Regions from separate parts of the Homo sapiens genome. Here region 2 is linked to region 1. The links are contacts of gene promoters, found by promoter capture Hi-C in blood cells and fetal thymus (Javierre and others, 2016). All regions are on one chromosome and are shown on one strand. The core of a region is centred on a gene start or on the middle of the fragment in contact, and the rest is flanking DNA. Distances in the headings are between cores, read along the strand shown. Region 1 holds the start of TAF9 (TATA-box binding protein associated factor 9). Region 2 holds the start of IPO11 (importin 11).

Region 1 (2,684 bases), core at 1-2,500:
TGTTCAGCCCTCCGCCCCAAATCGTTCACGATTAGAGACTGTGACGTTTCAAAAGGTATACAGGTGGAAAAAAAACACCTATTTGAGTAAATATAGTTTGTAGCTCGAAATAAAAGATGCAGACCAGGGGCCGGACGCGGTGGCTCATGCCTGTAATCCCAGCACCGTGGGAGGACGAGGCGGGCGGATCATCTGAGGTCAGGAGTTTGAGACCAGCCTGGCCAAAACATGGTGAAACCCCGTCTCTATTAAAAATGCAAAAATTAGCCGGGCGTGGTGGTGGGCGCCTGTAATCCCAGCTACTCTGGAGGCTAAGGCAGGAGAATCACTTGAACCCAGGAGGCGGAGGTTGCACTCCAGCCTGGGCGACAAGAGTGAGACTCCGTCTCAAAACAAAACAAAAACAAACAAACAAACAAAAAAAGGTGCAGACTGTTGTCACGGTCAGGTCTCTATTCACTCTTGAAAACAAGATTGACAATTACCTCCTTTAAAAAGCAGATAACTGTCCCTGAAGATGCGAGGTTACTGAAATGAGATGTCAGAGGTAGACCTTCAAGACTATTCCTAGCCGACCCACCACCACCCCACACAGTGAACAGGGAATACTAAGCTCAAATATTCGTCCAACGTAATCCTGTAATCAGTGGGGTGCCGGGTTGAGCTCGCAAATCCCCGCTGCAGGACAGGGCTCTGCACCCTCAATCTTCTCATCCCCAGATGGGATGGGCGGGTCGGGAGGAGGAGCGACGAGAGCCCAGGAAAGCTTGAAGGCAGAGATAGACTCACGTCTCTAAGACATATACATAATATAGCCGCAACCGCGGCGGCCTTACTTTCCCGGAGCTGCATCCCCTTTTAGGCGAAGAGCGGAGGCGACCAGGGACTACCCTAGGTGAAAGGGCAGCCACCTGGCCCTACCCGGGCTCAACGCCGAGCCTCTCGGAGGTACGGCCTCCCGGGGACCTTCCAGACTGGTCGGCGCAAGCGAAGGGCGGGGACCACCGAAGGAGTGTGTGACTTAGGCATCCAGCGCACTGCCTGACCCGAAGTACCGACCCGAGTTATGCCCACCCTCCAACTTTGCGACGGAAATGTGTCATCGAAAGCCAGGTAACCAGTGGGCCGCGGCTGGGCCGCCGGGGCAGGCTAGGGGCGCCGCGGTGGGCTTCGGGGCCTTTGGGGCCGTGGGCTTTTGCTGCCGCCCGCCCCTTCCGGCTCCTCCCTGTAGAGCAAAGGGCACGTGAGCGAGGCGCCCGAAGCCGTCGCGGCGGGGACCATGTTGCTTCCGAACATCCTGCTCACCGGTCAGGGCGCGCGGCCGGGAGGGACTGGGCTGGGGCAGGCTGGGGGCGCAGAGTGCTCTGGGCATCGGGCGCCCAGGTGGGGGCCCCTCACTGCCCTCTTCAGAGGCCGGCCGAGGGCCACGAGGCGGTTGTCAGCGCCCCGGGAGCCGACCCTCGCGGGCGTTGCGGGAGGCGAGGGAGGGGACGCGGAACGTTAATTCCGTTGGCCTGAGGCTCCGGGGGGGGGCGGGGGGGGGTGGAGAGAGGTCGGCAGATCCAGCTCTCCAGCTTGGCAACCTGCTTAGTCTTTCTGAATCTGGTATTTCGTTTGTAAAATGGGTTGTTGATTCTTTGGCAGGGTTGGCCTTGGGATTTTTAGCGAAATAACGTAAGGCCATATCTGCTTCCCGGTAGAGTCATTAATGGTGGATGCCTCACTCCTTAGGCCTCCGTGGGCCGTATTTTATTTTTTCTTTGCTTCTGATAAACGCCTCAGATTAGATTTCGGTAAACGAGTTCAGATGTTTGTGACGTGACGAAATTGCTGTATGCTTTTGTTGAGTTACATCAAAGGATCCCCCCGCCCCTTAAAAGGAAGGCATATAGAGCATTTCGGGTCGTTTCTCGCGTAGGAGTGGGTCTTTGAAGCCATACTCAGGGTGCATGTTATCAGTGAAGGGAATTAAAATGCTGCATAACGACTTTAACGAATATTTTTGCTAGCCGTTTAGTCCTGAAAGTGTTTATCAAATTGTAGGCCATTCGTGGAAAAATCTAATGCATGTAGATTTTATTGCAAGGTACAGAAAAATTAAGACTCTTTGTGGGAACAGTAAAGTTACATCATTCACCCAAAGGTAAAATTGTTGGCAGCGCACAAGACATGTCTGTTTCTGAGAGGTGCAGATTAACCACCCCACAAATAACGTTTAGAATTTTAGATTCCTTAAGCGGAAGATTTTACATCTTTTTGCATGGATCAAACATAGTGCCCTGGTTATTAAGTCATTGTCAAAACTTTAAAGTGAACATTTTATTGAAAACATGTTGAGTCCAGGGTTCAGACTTGGTGTATTATAGTGGACTTGAGGTGACCGTTATTCTCCTGGGTATGGGAACTGGATTATCCCTGTTATCTTTATGCTTAAGTTTAATTTCAGGGATGTTAAATCTGAATAGCTGAAAATTATGAATTTGATGATCTTGAAATGTAATTTTAATAGGTATCAGAAGGGGAAGGTAAAGAACAATGTATATAGTATTGTCATTTATGTAAAAGGGAATATGTGTTGTATTTATATAACAAAGAGTATGTACATATATGTACATTTACATGCAAACATAAATAGGGTTTCTTTGGGAAAGGAAACTGGTTTACAGTGGTTATCTCTAGGGAAG
Region 2 (2,684 bases), core at 79-2,578, 7.0 Mb after region 1:
CTCAGATTAAAATAAATGATGCTATAAATTTTTATACCGGTTTGTGCATTACCTCAGTGTTCTTCAACTGTTACCAACCAAAGTAGTGCATCTCAAGATTTATTGAACATTCCTTTCATCTAGATAACTTGTTAAAATTGCAGATTTTGATTCAGCAGCTCTGGATTGAGCCTGAGATCATGCATTTCTAATAAACTCCCAGGTGATGCTATATACCACAATTTGAGTAGCAAGGGTAAAGAACACTGATGCAACTTAAGCTCTACAAAGCTTATAACTGTGGACTTATCTGTAATAAGTCTGATAGTCAGCAAACCAAACACACTACAGACTCACACCAGCACTAAATGTGTTTTGCCATTCCTTAAACGCTCTGAAATTAACAGTCCCTATTTGAAGCTGATAAAGAAAGGAAAAAATATTACCATCAATAACACTAAATTAGAAGTGAGGTTACATACATACACACACACAGGTACAAATATATAACACAAAGGTCAAAATCCAAATAATCAAACATTACCTTACCCAAAATTTGAATATTTTTATTGCTGAGAAAAAAAAATTTTGTTTCTGGAAAAATCTTCAGTGTATTTTAATAGCCACATGCCTACAAGGATCATGCTGCATTCTGGTTTGATTCCAAATGCAAATATATTCAAACATCACAAAATCTAAAAATTGTTCTATTAATGATCAGATAATCTTTACATATTTGTTTAAAACCTCTAACATTACCACAGCCAAATGTGTTTGTGGTGAAAATTCTCTTTGGCCTTAGAAGTTCAACTAGGGCGGAGACCACCCTCCTACCCTGAGACTATAATATATGGCCACAAGCCACTACTATAATTAATTGTTTCTACTATACCCTGTGCTAGGTTACTGCAGAAACAGAGAAAATACCAGTCCCATCATAACCAAAAGGGAAAATGTTTCTACTTTCACCGAAATTTTCCTCAGTGATGAAAGATGTAATATGTGTCATGCAATGGATGTCTCCTATAGAAGAGTCACCCTGCCCTTAATCTGAAGCTCCTCTACTGAACAGAGAAGTTTGAAATAACATGAAAATGGAGGAAGAAAATTCCTATCCCAGGAGGGGGAAAAGCATTATGGCTACAAACTATTCTTCCTTCTGAAGAATAACCGAAATCTGAAGGGCACTACCGCGCTACAACTGAGCTCGTTTAAATTATGGAGGGGAGGAGGTATGTCAACTGCAACCTTGGCACTAGTAGGTAATTTACCAGTCCTTGCTATTTAGTCAAATCACTTTCAGATAGTACTTCTCTCATTCACCAACATGTCACAAAATAATAAAGAAAAAATGACACACGTAATAAGCAAAAGTAGTTTTGCTGAATCACAAATACCCCCAAATATAAATCTACAGGAGTCGCTGAGCTTGAGAATTGGCGGCCATACCTCTCCATGAAGCTCCTCTCTATAAACGGACAACTACCTTCACTTTTTCATTAAAAGCATGTAAGGGTCTAATGTTTAAAGCTATCACACTATTGCTATTAGCAACAAGGTCGCGTGCGCAGTAACAATGCACAACGGTCTTATACTCGAGATAACCACTTTATCTCAAAATTTGCACCACCTATCCCCCAAGGGCAAATGCATCACCCAGGTCCGCAACCGCGGTCACGATGGGTACACTCGCCTCTGCTCAGCCTAGCATACGGTCCCTCCCACCCCGCACCCTGATTGCTCCACTACCATGCTGCCCACTCCCGGGCTGCCTCGGCCAGCCCCCAGTTCCCCGGGTTCCTAAGGTTGCGCAAACAGCCAAGTCTGCAGGCCGCCCTTGCCTCGCTACCGTTATCCCTCATCTCCTGGTAGCCCCACTTTCCTCCCGCCTCTCGGGACTCGGGTGCCCAACCCACTCCCTTCCACTCCCGCGCGCTCGGTGGCTCTCGGGCCGGGGCCTCACCGTTTGGTTCGGTCGGGAATTGCCCGGCCCTCCCGCTCCCACTTCCCAACACGAAGTGGCGTCGGTTGGTCCCTCTCCCCACGCTGCCAGACCCCACGCCGCCGCCTACTGATGCCGAAAGCGGCTTCTAGGAACACGCCATGTTTGGCGTCGCAGCTCCAAACGACGCGGACGCGCGAAAACTACGTCACAGGAGACCAGCGCGCATGCGACCGGCAGAGAGAGAAGGCGATAGGCGAACGGCGGGAAGGGGAAGGAGGGGCTTTGTCTTTGAACCAAAAGGCGCGGGGTATCCAAATCAGTTGTGTGCGCTTGCGCAGTGCGCTTGCGCAGTATAAAGAGCCAGGAGTCCGGACTAGCCGGATCTGTCACCATGGAAACCATAGGTCTGGTTTCTCCGACTCCCAGGGAGCTCAATTGTTTCCTGCGTTGATTGAAGCTTCAATCAGAACCATTTCACGCTTTATATTCTAGATATCAATAGCGGATCCGTCACAGCAGAGAAGAGTTATTTAAAGAATCTTACTCCCATCAGTCCACCCTCCCTCCCGCAAATATTTATTTTTTAAGTTACCCAAATTGCTTGGCGCTTACTCCTGAGTAATAGCAAGAGTGGAAAAATGTAAAAGGACATAAATCCAGTTCTGCTTGCCTCTGCTAAAAGCTAGCATAGTCACCTAAATTTTCTTATCCTTAAAAAGAGAACTTACTCAGGCGCAGTGGCGCGCGCCTGTAGTCCCAG

What was found. Contacts are between HindIII fragments. The CHiCAGO score rates a contact against its expected background, and 5 or more counts as called.
Region 2: a fragment that was not itself captured here is called in contact with the fragment with the promoter of TAF9 in region 1 in 2 of 17 cell types (naive CD4 T cells and total B cells); the score reaches 7.5 in naive CD4 T cells.

Annotation. Positions count from the first base shown.
Region 1 is chr5:69,368,086-69,370,769 of GRCh38, reverse strand. It overlaps TAF9 (TATA-box binding protein associated factor 9), which reads left to right and starts at 1,250. Exons shown (of 3, transcript NM_003187.5): 1 at 1,250-1,307. It overlaps AK6 (adenylate kinase 6), which reads left to right and starts at 1,250. Exons shown (of 5, transcript NM_016283.5): 1 at 1,250-1,307. The coding sequence starts at 1,280. RAD17 (RAD17 checkpoint clamp loader component) reads right to left here and starts at 952. Exons shown (of 19, transcript NM_133338.3): 1 at 837-952. RefSeq lists an enhancer at 149-698. The HindIII fragment of the contact is 4,867 bases long and covers 769-2,684 here.
Region 2 is chr5:62,412,188-62,414,871 of GRCh38, reverse strand. It overlaps IPO11 (importin 11), which reads right to left and starts at 2,109. Exons shown (of 30, transcript NM_016338.5): 1 at 1,943-2,109. RefSeq lists a silencer at 1,619-1,668 and an enhancer at 1,999-2,188. The HindIII fragment of the contact is 2,111 bases long and covers 273-2,383 here.